3 separate regions of the Homo sapiens genome follow, and all the other regions are linked to region 2. Evidence: promoter capture Hi-C in 16 types of primary human blood cells and fetal thymus (Javierre and others, 2016). All regions are on one chromosome and are shown on one strand. The core of a region is centred on a gene start or on the middle of the fragment in contact, and the rest is flanking DNA. Distances in the headings are between cores, read along the strand shown.

The links. The method cuts DNA at HindIII sites, captures the fragments that hold promoters and counts their contacts. A CHiCAGO score of 5 or more calls a contact.
Region 1: a contact is called between a fragment that was not itself captured here and the fragment with the promoter of TNFSF8 in region 2, in 14 of 17 cell types (non-activated CD4 T cells, neutrophils, naive CD4 T cells and 11 more). The highest score is 13.7, in non-activated CD4 T cells.
Region 3: a fragment that was not itself captured here is called in contact with the fragment with the promoter of TNFSF8 in region 2 in 2 of 17 cell types (M1 macrophages and M0 macrophages); the score reaches 9.2 in M1 macrophages.

The regions. Positions count from the first base shown.
Region 1 is chr9:114,407,789-114,411,983 of GRCh38, reverse strand. WHRN (whirlin) reads left to right here. Exons shown (of 12, transcript NM_015404.4): 8 at 3,966-4,037. Among named protein-coding and RNA genes, the nearest start is that of AKNA, 22 kb to the right of the region's middle. RefSeq lists a silencer at 2,347-2,396. The HindIII fragment of the contact is 6,945 bases long and covers 1-4,195 here.
Region 2 is chr9:114,929,122-114,933,541 of GRCh38, reverse strand. TNFSF8 (TNF superfamily member 8) reads left to right here and starts at 2,951. Exons shown (of 4, transcript NM_001244.4): 1 at 2,951-3,433. The coding sequence starts at 3,239. RefSeq lists an enhancer at 3,298-3,857. The HindIII fragment of the contact is 2,687 bases long and covers 1,443-4,129 here.
Region 3 is chr9:115,524,981-115,529,534 of GRCh38, reverse strand. No RefSeq gene overlaps it. Among named protein-coding and RNA genes, the nearest start is that of DELEC1, 390 kb to the right of the region's middle. The HindIII fragment of the contact is 2,493 bases long and covers 354-2,846 here.

The DNA of each region.
Region 1 (4,195 bases), core at 407-2,906, 520 kb after region 2:
GGACAGGGCCAGCTATGGCTGCCTTCTCTCTCATTTCCAAGAGGGTTGCTCATGGGGGCCTCAGGTTCCTATGACATCAAGGCCCTGTTCATTTCTGGGGTTGGGACAGTGTAGTATGGGCGTTGGGGTGACCCAGACCTGGGTTAGAAACCTTACCTTCTGTAGAACGGTCAGATGACCTTGGACAAGTCTCTTCCCTCTCTGAACTTCAGGTGTAATCGATGTGACAAGGGACAGTCCTAGTGCCTGCCTCACAGGGTCATTGGGAGGATCAAATGAGATAATATAAGTAAAACACCCAGCACGGGGCCTGGCGCACAGTAGGTCCTTTGTAGTTCTCTAATACCCTTTCTGGGAAAAAGTCACACCCTCCCTGAGCTTCCCTGGAAAGTCATGGCTGCCTGATAAGAGCTTCCTGCACAGCTGAATGTGCAAAGCCCCTGATGCGCCAGAGCAGGGCAGGATCCCACGGCATTGGTCCTACCATGTACTGTCATCTGAGTCCAACCCCAGCTTCCCCCAGGATCAGCTGCAGGTTGAATTCCTGGGGCAGGGGGCAGTGGCTCCACCTGAATGTGGCAGAGGCTCCCCTTGTCTTTGCTGTAGATACCTCTGAGGCTCTGACCCCTCTCTGTGCCTCCTGCTGACACCAGGACTATGAATGTTGAGCCTGAGGAAGTGAATGCATGTCAATCACTGCCTCACTGTTCACCTTAACGCGCCTGGCTGGACTACTTCCAGGGAGCATTGGACTCATTATGGTCTTGGAGGAGGGAGGTGGTGTGAGAGGGCTGCCATTCCTTTCCATCCTAGTTGTCATATGGGCCAGGACACGTCTCGCGGTTCATTCTCTTGCTGGGGCAGATTGCAAGGCCTCCCAGTCTCCCAATGCACGTAACAGTCACCTTCCTCGTACATTGTGCCAGGCCCTATTCTGAGTGCTTTGTAAGTGTTAACATGTCCACTGCCTAAGGCAGGTATTGCTGTTAACCTATTTTACAGAGGAAGGATTTACCTACCATCACTCAGCTGCAAGCGGCAGAACTGGGTGTGAGCTCAAAGAAGCCTCAGAGTTGGCAGAGCCAGAACCAGTGTCACTAATCAGTGAGTGAGAGAGCAGCCCAATCACCCTCGCCCTTTTGAAAGAATCCCCCCAACCACCACATACCGCGCTTGCATCACAGGGGCTGTCAGCAGCAGATTCCTGTGAGGCAGTGTGCAGTTAACAGGTCAGGACCAAGGTTTGCATGTAAACCTCAACTTTGTGGGGAAATGGGGGCAGTTGCCCCTGCCTGACTATGCCCCTGAAGCATCATGGGACCAGATGAGGAGCTCTGGGTTTGCAGGGCTCTGACCCGGAAGGCCCGAGCCAGCATCTTGTGGGTCGAGATGGGGATATGTGTGGCATGACTGGCCTCTCTCTGTCTTAGGGGTATGGCGTCAGGAGTGCCTTCTGTCCCCACCTGCTGCCTTCACACTCAGACATTCATTACTGCTCACTGCAGTGACCTGCAGCACCACCCCCCTCAACTCCCTGCCTGCTCTGGCCTCCTCCAATGATGGCTAGAGTGATTGATTCATTCATTCATCCATCCTGCCATTCATTCATGGATTCATCAGTTTGCTTCATAAACATTTATCCAGCAGCCACTGTTCTGAAAAGTGAGGAGAGAGTGAGGACCGAGTAGTTGCATGTCCTGCCTTCTCAGAGTTTATATCCTATTGAGAGAGACAGACAGTATGCAAAGAGTATAAAGTCAGATGGTGATAGGTGTTACACAGAAAACCAAAGCAGGAACGGGATAGACAGGGATGGGGGTGGGGCAGTACTGTTTTAGACAGGGCTTCTCTGGGAGGGCCTCGCTGAGGTCTGAACTAAACAAAGTGAAGGAATGAACCACAGTGTGGTGCAGAGTGAGAGCGGCAGGTGCAAAGGCCCTGGGGCAGTAATGAGCTCGTGATGTTGGAGTAGCAGGAAAGGGCCCGGTCATGTAGGCACAATGAGTAGGGTTTGGAACTTCCTCCAACTGAGATGAAGAGGCCCTTGGGGGTCCTGAGCTGCAGAGAGACCTGACATGTGTTTCTGGCATGACTCCCTAGCTGCTGGGTGGAGATGGTGATCAATGAGAAGGAGAAAAATAAAGCAAGGTGGAGTGGGGTGAGGGGAAGGTTACGATTTTAGCTGAGGTGGTGAGGGTACACCTTGTCGAGCAGGTGACAGGTGGGTTAGGTTTTGGAGGTGAGCGACAGCATGCCTTGTGGATGGATAGCCAAGCAGAAGAGTCGCAGACAGAGACAACAGCCAGTGTGAAGGCTGACACATCCGTGGTGTTCCAGCCTGGCTGGAGAGGATGTGAGCAAAGGGGATCTTCGTAGAAGGCAAACTTGACCACATCTCCATGGCAACCCACTGCCCTCAGGCTTAAGTGCAAGAGCTCCATGCTTGACTTCTGTGGAGCTGCTCGGGGGTTCTCAAACATCCTATCTCCATTCCTGCTTTACACCCTTTCCTCTGTCTGAAACACCTATCGTTCCCTTCTTTGCTCTGCTCACTCATAAGACCTAGCTTTGAGTTGTGCCCCGTCCTCCAGGAAGCCTTCCGTGGTAACCCCTCCCCCGATTGCATTATATGCCTGTGTTTGCCCATTGGATGCTCTCTCTGCAGTCTCCCTGTTGCTTGTTTGCTTGTCGACTGACCCCATTGTCTCTGAGCTACCAATGGCAGGGTTGGTGTCCCACCTCTGTGTCCCCAGCCCCTTATCAGCCTGGAGCTTCAGAGACTGCTCAGTACTGATGAGCACTGCAGTTGAGACCTCAGCCAAGTGTTGATGTAGCCAGCAGGGTTCTCCAGAGAAAGAGAAGCAATCAGTTATACTATATTGTGTGGGATTGGCCCACGCAATGATGGAGGTTGAGAAGTCCCCTGATCTGCCATCTGCAAGTCGGAGGCCCAGGGAAGCTGGTGGTTTTGTTTTAGTCCAAGTCCAAAGGCCCAATAACCATGAGCTCCGGTGTCTGAGGGAGGAGGAGATGGATGTCTCAGCTCTAGAAGAGCGCGCAAATTTGCCCTTCCTCTGCCTTTCTGTTCTGTTCAGGCCCTTAGTGGATTGGATGAGGCCCACCCACATTGGGGAGGGTGAGTTTTGCCCAGTCCACCCATTCATATGCTGATCTCTCCTGGAAACACCCTCACAGACACACCCAGAAATAATGTTTTACCAGCTATCTCAGCATCCCTTAGCCCAGTCAAGTTGACACGCGAAGCTAATCATCACAGTGGTGGAAGCTCTTTTCCATTCTGGGCTCTAGGGCCGAGAGAACTGGCTCCCTTAGCCCTCAAGAGAGCCCAGCTCAGAGAGGAGCTCCGATGGGCCCCCCATAGACGGCCCACAAATGGCCTTTTGGCAGCCCAGTGTCACTTAAGGAGGCATTGGGTTTCTTCTTGTGAATTGGGAAGGGAAGAAAGAAATAGACGTTTTTTGCAAAATAAGGTCCATTTAAACCTTAAACCACCACCTTGGGATTAAAACCATTAGAATTTTAAAAAGGGAGAGACTTTCCCCATCCACTTCTCTCTTGCCATTTTCACACCTTCCTGGGATTCATCAGCAAGTGGTGGAGAGAGGCCTTGGCTTTTGGAGGCATGACTGTGGAGCACAGCGCTCGTGGCCAAACCCAGGAATTCCCAGCCCAGGCTAGAGATGCCCCAGCATCTCTGGCAGTTCAGGGGATGCCTGAAAATGATCAGAAAGTCCCAAAGAAAACTTAACTTCAAAGTGACCAGCAGGCAAATTGACCTTCATTTTAATGGGTAAAGTGAATTTCGATGAAGTGAGGTATGTCAGGGCTCACATGAACCACATGGAGGTGTCCTAAGACTTCCTCAATTTTGGTGTGCTGGAGAACAAACCAGTGTTCCCTTCTCAGCTTCTGTTTGCTCACTTTGCTTTCTCGTCCATTTCTAGAACACTCTGGACCTGGAGGAAACTGGCGAGGCTGTCCAGGGCAATATCAACGCCCTCCCAGATGTGTCCGTGGTAAGGCCCTGGCTGGCCCTTTGGTTCTGCTCTCCCTGGTGTGCTCAGGTCCTGGTGGCTCTCTCCTCTCCATGACAGCCACGGAGAAAGGGCACAGGGTGGCAAAGGAGACAGAGGCCTCTGCCATGAGCTCTCACACCCAGCTACAGGTCTGTGCA
Region 2 (4,420 bases), core at 1,702-4,201:
TTAAAAAAAAAAAAAAATAGCCAGGCCTAGGGGTGTGTGCCTGTAATCCCAGCAACTCAGGAGGCTGAGGCAGGAGAATCACTTGAACCTAGGAGGCAGAGGTTGCAGTGAGCCGAGATTGCGCCATTACACTCCAACCTGGGTGACAGGGCGAGACTCAGTCAAAAAAAAAAAAAAAAAAAAAAAAGGAGAGAGAATGAGCAGAAGGGACTCTTACACCTGTCTCTCTCCCTGATGGTATGTACTTCCTTTAGTTGTTCCCATTTCTGTGTCCCAGTTTCCTCCTTTTGTGGAATGAAGGATTCAAGCCAAATTTTCTGAAGTTTCTAAATTTTATTCACCTTGGAGAGACCCCATGCCAGAAAAGGGCAAATGAGCAGGTGAAGCTTAGCCCTTCTCTTTGTCCCACCTGTGCTTCAGCCAAAGCAGCCCTGTTTTCTTATGTTTTTATATTCCTTATACAGCTTTGCTTCCAGAAAGGATTTAAAACTTACTCAACAAGAAATTCTATAAAGGCTCCTTCCATCTGCACATCGTACAGCTTGAGTAGAAGACAGAAAGAAGCCAGTTAGCACAGGTCATGGATTTCTATGTTGGCCAGGCTAGATTCTAGAACAGCTGGAAAGCAGAGAGGGGCTTAGAGCAATGGGGGTGGGAAATAGGGAGCCACTGAAGGTTTGTGAGTAGAGGAGTGTCACAGCAAAAGAATGAATTGAGCCCACAAACTACTGTACTAGGAACTGATCCGAAAATCTCAACTGCTCAGAAAGTTGAGTAAAAACAAAGGGTGATTTTTCCCCCTTGTCAGCCTTCCCTCCCAGGACATTGTATTGTATGCAAAACGGGTAACTGTAAGACAAACATTTTTTTCCACTGCCCTTCTCAGCCCCACAGGCCTTCAGGAAGACCCGAACTTCAAGCAAAGCCTTTTTATTTTTCAACACCCACAGCTTCCATTCAACAATCAGAAGTTTTCCACTTTGATCAAAGAGGCTGAACAAGAGGGCCAAGGGAGCAGCTGGTTCTCAGCAACTCTGGGCAGACCACAGAGCCCTTGCTACCCACTCACTGTCCGTGCCCACCAGAGGACACAGCCTTCTCCCCAAATCAGCCAGGTACATGCCCCAGAAAACACTGGCTTGCCTCGTTCCCACCTTAATTACCGGACCAAACGAACGTGAACACACTGTTTTCAAAACCAAACTCAATTGGGATCACGGGGGCCTCGGTTTCCTTGATTGTAAAATGGGTATATCGCCCCCCACTCTATTTAGCCCAAGAAAACAATTTATCTCTTGATGTCTCTTTCGTCTCCAGGATCTATGCTTTTACAGACTCACTGGGAGGAAATATCCAGACCAAATCCTAAAGCCTGATCTAATTTGGGAGATGCTCAGAAGTTTTGGTTCTATGCAAGAACAGCAGTGGTAATAATCCAAGCTTGGCTTTAGACACAGGACGTTTCCTTAGGGGCATCTGGGATCTCTGCTGGCTCAAAGTGATGCGCTGCAGACAAAAAGTGAGCAGAAAGGAAAGGAGGTGCTATGCAGAATGAGCTTCTTCCACGGTGATACCAAATGGAGCTTTCAAAGGCCCACATCTGGAGGCAGCAGCTATGCAGTGATTAACATTTTAAACGGTATTTTGAAATGGAGATCATTAGTAACCACAGATGTGATCTGACTCTGTCCCCCAGGTAATCTGTCTATTGTATCTAAATTCCAGACTTAGCCCAGTAGACAGCTTGGGATGTTTAACAGGAATTGTCCAACACCATCCCCAAATCTATTTTTATTCATGGAGTACTCTGACATCATCTCGCTTGGTCTTCCTGATGACTGTAATGCAGATTGGGAACAGAGAAAGCCATAAAGACTTGTATGATGGCCCAAGGCTAAGAAGGGAAAGGGCTGAGACCACACTTCAGGTTTTAGCTTTCAGGTGCAGTGAAGATTGAATGACTTAGCACGAGCTTTCAGCCAGGCAGGCTGCAAAGTGCACCCAAGTTCTTTCAGTGATCGACACTTGCGACTTAGGTTGAGATAGTTTTCATCCTCCCTGAGCCTCAGTTTTCCCATCTGTAAAAAATAAACATTGCCTGCCTCGGAGGGTGGAGGTGGAAGTGGAATGAAGCCACATGTAACTCCTAGCGCTGTGCCTGAGACAGTAGAGGTTCAATTATAGTAGTCACATACACACACAACACATACATACACAAGACACAACACACCACACACAACACATACATACACACCACACACAACACTTACATACGCACCACACTCGGCATGCATTGCAGATCACAAATGCACACCACACACACACTGCATACATATACCATAGAGAACACACAACACCTACACATACCCCCATACCACAAATACACACACACTACATAGTACACCACGCAGAACACACACAGCCCCCATATTCCACACCACACCATCTCACTGCCAATTCCTTCCCCTCTTCATGAGTTTTACGGCAGGTCCAGGTTCATCTGCCAGTTTAACAGATCCCAAAACTTCTGCAGGAGTGTTTGTTCAAAAGATTGATATTTCCAGATTCCTGCTTTCTGACAGTATCTTTGAACCCCAAATTTCATACTGCCATGAGCCAGTCCCCCTTTGGAGAAATATCTCCATTTGTGTGCCCTTTTTCCCCCAGGGAACCTGCAGCATGTCCCTTTTTCAGCAGTAGCCTATCAAACCGAACCCTTTGGAGTTATTACACTGCAGTCCGAGGGATCCGGCCTCCCTGAGACCCAGCAAGGACTCATTATCTGGGGAGGTCTTCTGAGCCACAGGCCTCGCTGAAAGAAGGTGCAGCTTCTTGAACAGGAAGGCGTTTTGTGGCAGAGTCTAAACGAAACAGAAGTTGCTTTGTGTGTGCGCACGCATGCACACACACACACACACACACACACATACACACACACAGTCGGGGAACCGTCATTTTCCTACGCGCCCTCTGACATCAGCCACCTTCTCTGTAGCTAGTTTCTCTGCACACAACTTAATCCCTGGCAATGAAAAATGAACCTCTCCCCCACCCTTGCTGCCGCCTCTCGCCTCACGCCCCCAGAGAAGAGTTTCTCCACCAGGCAGCAGGTGAAGGTTTTTTTCCAAGTCACATGATTCAGGATTCAGGGGGAGAATCCTTCTTGGAACAGAGATGGGCCCAGAACTGAATCAGATGAAGAGAGATAAGGTGTGATGTGGGGAAGACTATATAAAGAATGGACCCAGGGCTGCAGCAAGCACTCAACGGAATGGCCCCTCCTGGAGACACAGCCATGCATGTGCCGGCGGGCTCCGTGGCCAGCCACCTGGGGACCACGAGCCGCAGCTATTTCTATTTGACCACAGCCACTCTGGCTCTGTGCCTTGTCTTCACGGTGGCCACTATTATGGTGTTGGTCGTTCAGAGGACGGTAAGTGGACTCCTCTTCCTCCCTTTCCTTTTCTTGTTGTTTTCCCGAGAGAAAGAGCCCTGGGAACAAATGATATTCGTTTGTTGGTTAAGAGCACAAAATAAAATTAAATAAATAAACTCTCTCTCTCTATATATATATATATACTATAGTATATACTGTATAACGTAATACACTTATGTTACATAATATATATTATATTATACAGTATATATTATATATATATATATATATGAGAAAGGGAGAAAAGAAAGAGGAACTTAACTCTCTAAAATAATTTGGCTTGTTGAGAAAAATATTGTTAGACCATCATCTTAAAACTTTGCAGATCTGTCTGAGCAAAACAGTGGAGGGGAGCTATTGGCCTTTTAAAGTTAAGATTTAAATCTTAATGAGCCAGAGACCCATATCAAGGAAGGAAGCAATAGAGAAACCTGATAACACATTTGCACAAGTTGTTATCATGTCTTCAAGGACTTCAGACTGGATTCTGAGGTTCTATATCCTAAGTCTGAGTGTCCTGGAGGTTTCTGAGGCCTCACCCATTGCCAAGAGTTTTGTTTTTGCTTTTGTTTTATACAAGGAGCTAAGTTTCAGAGGCCAAGGTCTAGAAGGAAAGGAGGCGAAAGAGAAGACCATGGCTTCTTAGAGCTTTGGACATTTTGGTGTTAAAGCCAGCAAGACAAATCGAAAGCTTCCTCTTAAGCCACAACTTTGAAGAAGTTAGGGCGTCACAAAAAAAAAAAAAAAAGAAACAGCACATAGAAGCAGAAAGTTGAAAGGTTTTTAGCACCTGTTCTCTCTGATGTTCCTCACAATACTAAGCAATCGTTGGGTACACACTGTACAGGGTCAGACTGTCTTCGGAGATTTACTTTGAAGTAAATGGTAAGATTTGTTTCTGAAAACAGAAGAGGAGGAGAAAGAGGAAGCTTCTTCATATTTTAGAAAATTGGTGTTTACAGAGAATCTACCAGTATATATTAT
Region 3 (4,554 bases), core at 351-2,850, 600 kb before region 2:
ACGGTATTTTTTATAATTGTTTTACTTCAGTATTAGTTATTGTAAAAATTTTACCGTGCTTAATTTATAATTTAAACTCTATCATGGGTATGTATGCATATGAAAAAAATACAGTGTATATAGGGTTCAGTACTATCTGTGTTTTCAGGCATCTACTGGGAATCTTGAAACTTATCCCAAGTTACACAGCTATACAGGGGGCCTACTGTATCAACTGGAGCTTGAAGGTGATGCAACAGGAAGATGGAGAGATGACTGAACAGTTAGGATGTTTCTGATGTCATAGAGGTATTAGATGAGAATGATCTCCAATGCCTAAGAAACTGGGGGAGAAGGGGTAATTGGCAAAAGCTTTTATTCTCTCAGAATCTACCTTGTTGCACAGACTCCATAAGAGGCCACAAAACGTAGCATGGGTCAGGGCATACTTCTGTGGAAAGAATGCAGCCACGATGGAATCTCATAGGCCAAGTTTGAATTCTGGCTTCACCACCTGCCAACTCTACCAATTAACACCATCCTTCAGGATTTTAGTCTTCTCAACTCTCAACTGGCATAACAGTGGCTACTTGAGTAGATCACTGACAAGATGATAAATTATTACATAATTTATATATAAAAATGATTACATGATTTATATATAAATGATTACATAATTTATATATAAAAATTATTACTTGTAAATTTGTCTGAGTTCATTGTAGATTCTGGATATTAGCCCTTTGTCAGATGAGTAGGTTGCGAAAATTTTCTCCCATTTTGTAGGTTGCCTGTTCACTCTGATGGTAGTTTCTTTTGCTGTGCAGAAGCTCTTTAGTTTAATTAGATCCCATTTGTCAATTTTGTCTTTTTGCCATTGCTTTTGGTGTTTTGGACATGAAGTCCTTGCCCATGCCTATGTCCTGAATGGTAATGCCTAGGTTTTCTTCTAGGGTTTTTATGGTTTAAGGTCTAACGTTTAAGTCTTTAATCCATCTTGAATTGATTTTTGTATAAGGTGTAAGGAAGGGATCCAGTTTCAGCTTTCTCCATATGGCTAGCCAGTTTTCCCAGCACCATTTATTAAATAGGGAATCCTTTCCCCATTGCTTGTTTTTCTCAGGTTTGTCAAAGATCAGATAGTTGTAGATATGCGGCGTTATTTCTGAAGGCTCTGTTCTGTTCCATTGTTCTATATCTCTGTTTTGGTACCAGTACCATGCTGTTTTGGTTACTGTAGCCTTGTGGTATAGTTTGAAGTCAGGTAGTGTGATGCCTCCAGCTTTGTTCTTTTGGCTTAGGATTGACTTGGTGATGCGGGCTCTTTTTTGGTTCCATCAAAAAGTGGGCGAAGGACATGAACACACACTTCTCAAAAGAAGACATTTATGCAGCCAAAAAACACATGAAAAAATGTTCATCATCACTGGCCATCAGAGAAATGCAAATCAAAACCACAATGAGATACCATCTCACACCAGTTAGAATGGCAATCATTAAAAAGTCAGGAAACAACAGGTGCTGGAGAGGATGTGGAGAAATAGGAACACTTTTACACTGTTGGTGGGACTGTAAACTAGTTCAACCATTGTGGAAGTCAGTGTGGCGATTCCTCAGGGATCTAGAACTAGAAATACCATTTGACCCAGCCATCCCATTACTGGGTCTATACCCAAAGGACTATAAATCATGCTGCTATAAAGACACATGCACACGTATGTTTATTGTGGCATTATTCACAATAGCAAAGACTTGGAACCAACCCAAATGTCCAACAATGATAGACTGGATTAAGAAAATGTGGCACATATACACCATGGAATACTATGCAGCCATAAAAAATGATGAGTTCATGTCCTTTGTAGGGACATGGATGAAATTGGAAATCATCATTCTCAGTAAACTATCGCAAGAACAAAAAACCAAACACCGCATATTCTCACTCATAGGTGGGAATTGAACAATGAGATCCATGGACACAGGAAGGGGAATATCACACTCTGGGGACTGTTGTGGGGTGGGGGGAGGGGGGAGGATAGCATTGGGAGATATACCTAATGCTAGATGACGAGTTAGTGGGTGCAGCGCACCAACATGGCACATGTATACATATGTAACTAACCTGCACAATGTGTACATGTACCCTAAAACTTAAAGTATAATAAAAATTATTACATGATTTATAAATAAAAATTATTACATAATTTATAAATATATATAAATCTCAGCTATTGCTGTATTTCATTTACTATTTTAACAACAATCCTAGGTGCCAACTATATGCCAACTATTTTGCTAGATGCTACAGGAATACTGAACATGGTCTGTGTCTTTAAGTAGTGTGGAAAATAGCTGTATTCTCTATAAAAGAAAGACAGTAGTATTTTAAAATTAAATTCTGATCAAGTCACTCTTCTGTTTAAACTATTTTGAAGATTCCTATTATTCTTAGGATAAAAACCTGAAATCCTTAGTAGGACAATTATGGATAATGTTGCCCTTGCTTAAAAAACTCAGTCTAATCTCAAGCTACCTTTCGCTCTCTCAATTCCAGCTGCCTGTTTATTTCATATAGAGTGTATTTATGGCTATTTGATTAACGTCTATGTCTCATGACATCTTTGCTCTGTTGGGTCAGAAAGTTTTATCTGTTTTGCTACTCACTACATTCCTAAAGCCTGAGCAAAATTTCTGACAGCCAGGAGGTTGTCAAGAAATAGGCTTTTAATAAAAGGAACAATAAATGACAAGTAAAAGCTACAATGGTAGATAAAGTTATCCCATGCAACAGGAGCACAAAGAGAGAAACAGCAAACTCTGCCTCAGGTAGAGGAAGTAGCCTTTGAATATAGTAGAACAAACAAGCTTAGCTTTAAAGCACACCACAGAAGAGTTATCCAAGCAGAGAAGCTTTTTGTTTGTGCAAAAATCCCAGGAGGTACTAATTGTGCAGACCTCATTCTTCACCTATAAAATGAACTACCTGATACCTATTTAAGAGAGGGAAGTTATGAGTATTGGCTGAGATGCATGATGTAAATATGTCTGCCAAATATATATAAGGTGTTGTGATCAGAATCTACCTGTCTCATAAGCCTGGTTTATATTATGGCATTCTTGAAAATAAAAAATAATTAAATAATAATAGTAATAATAATAGTGACAATAATAATAAAAACAAAAAGTAGTGGGAAAGAAGAAGAGGAGAAGGAGGAAGAAGAGGAAGAGAAGGAGAAGGAGGAGGAAGAGAAAGAGGAGGAGGAGGAGAAGGAGGAGAAGGAAAAGAATAATTTTCTTTGTTTATTTTCTACTATGTACCTAGAACTTGATGTACAGTATTTTAATCCTATAAAAACTTTCATAGTAGCTAGTATTTTCTTCATTTCAATGATAGAGAAACTGACTTCCAGAGGTTTTAAATGTCCTTTCCAAAATCATAGAATAATAAGCAATTTATATAAACAGTGAAATTCTAATATCCTGGCCATCAACAATTATTTATTATGTACCTACAGTGGATCAGTCCATCTTTCTATGCTCTAGAAATGCAACTGTATATAAAAAGATAGATATTCTGCCTTCATGAAGCATAGAGTCCACTGGCATAAGCATATTGCAGAGATCCTGATGCTGATTGGTACCACACCATGAGAGGGGCATCTCTTTCCCATACTAAGGGGCATTACTATAGGCAGACAGTGACTCATTTAAGTCTCTATGAATGTCTTGCCACCTCACCTTGATACTAAATATTCTCATATCATGAAGTCAGAGTCATAGGAAAAGGGCAGAATCAGAGGCTAAAATGGCCAATTGGTGAGGTTGTAGCAGAATGACATCTCAGATTCTATTGTCCAGAGCCAGAAAGCAGAAGGGAGCTGGAGTTGGCCCAGACACTTGAGTTCTTGTTCACATCAGTCTGGAATATGTTGATACTCAATAAATATTTGTAAGCTGTCACTGTAAAATTTAGGAGCAGTCATGTGCTGCCAGCACACGAGAGCCCGTTACTTTCCAACTCCACATTCAATAAAATAGATCATGATGAGAGTATTTTTTAAACAGAGAAATCAGCAAATACCATAGATTGGTCCCTGCCCACCACCACCCTGACTTGGTTGGTAAACATTTACCAGCATACCACTGGAGAAAGAGCATCTCTCTCTGAGTCATTGTTTCTCCGTCTTTTCAAGGGGTAGACGATGAAGTGATTTTAAAGCCCCCAGAAAGCTGGATGATATGTTAGAAACAGCAAAGGTCTGGGGCAAGGCATACTTGGATTAAATTATAGATGCTGGCCACACATTGCTCTTGGAACGTTCAGCACGCTATTTGTCTCCCTGAGCCGCAGTTCCCTCCTATGTAGAATGAGGCTATTCACTTCTGCATGATTAGATTTTTCTAGGTGTTAAATATCAACATGGAAAACATGGAAAAATATAGACTCTAATAAGTGTTAGACTCCCCTTATTCCTATCATCTTCACAAATTATAAATAAAAGAATGAGCAAATACATAAATTTTCATTTTTTTCAGAGTTTGTATACCCCTCTTTTGCTTGATTACTTTTAGTTT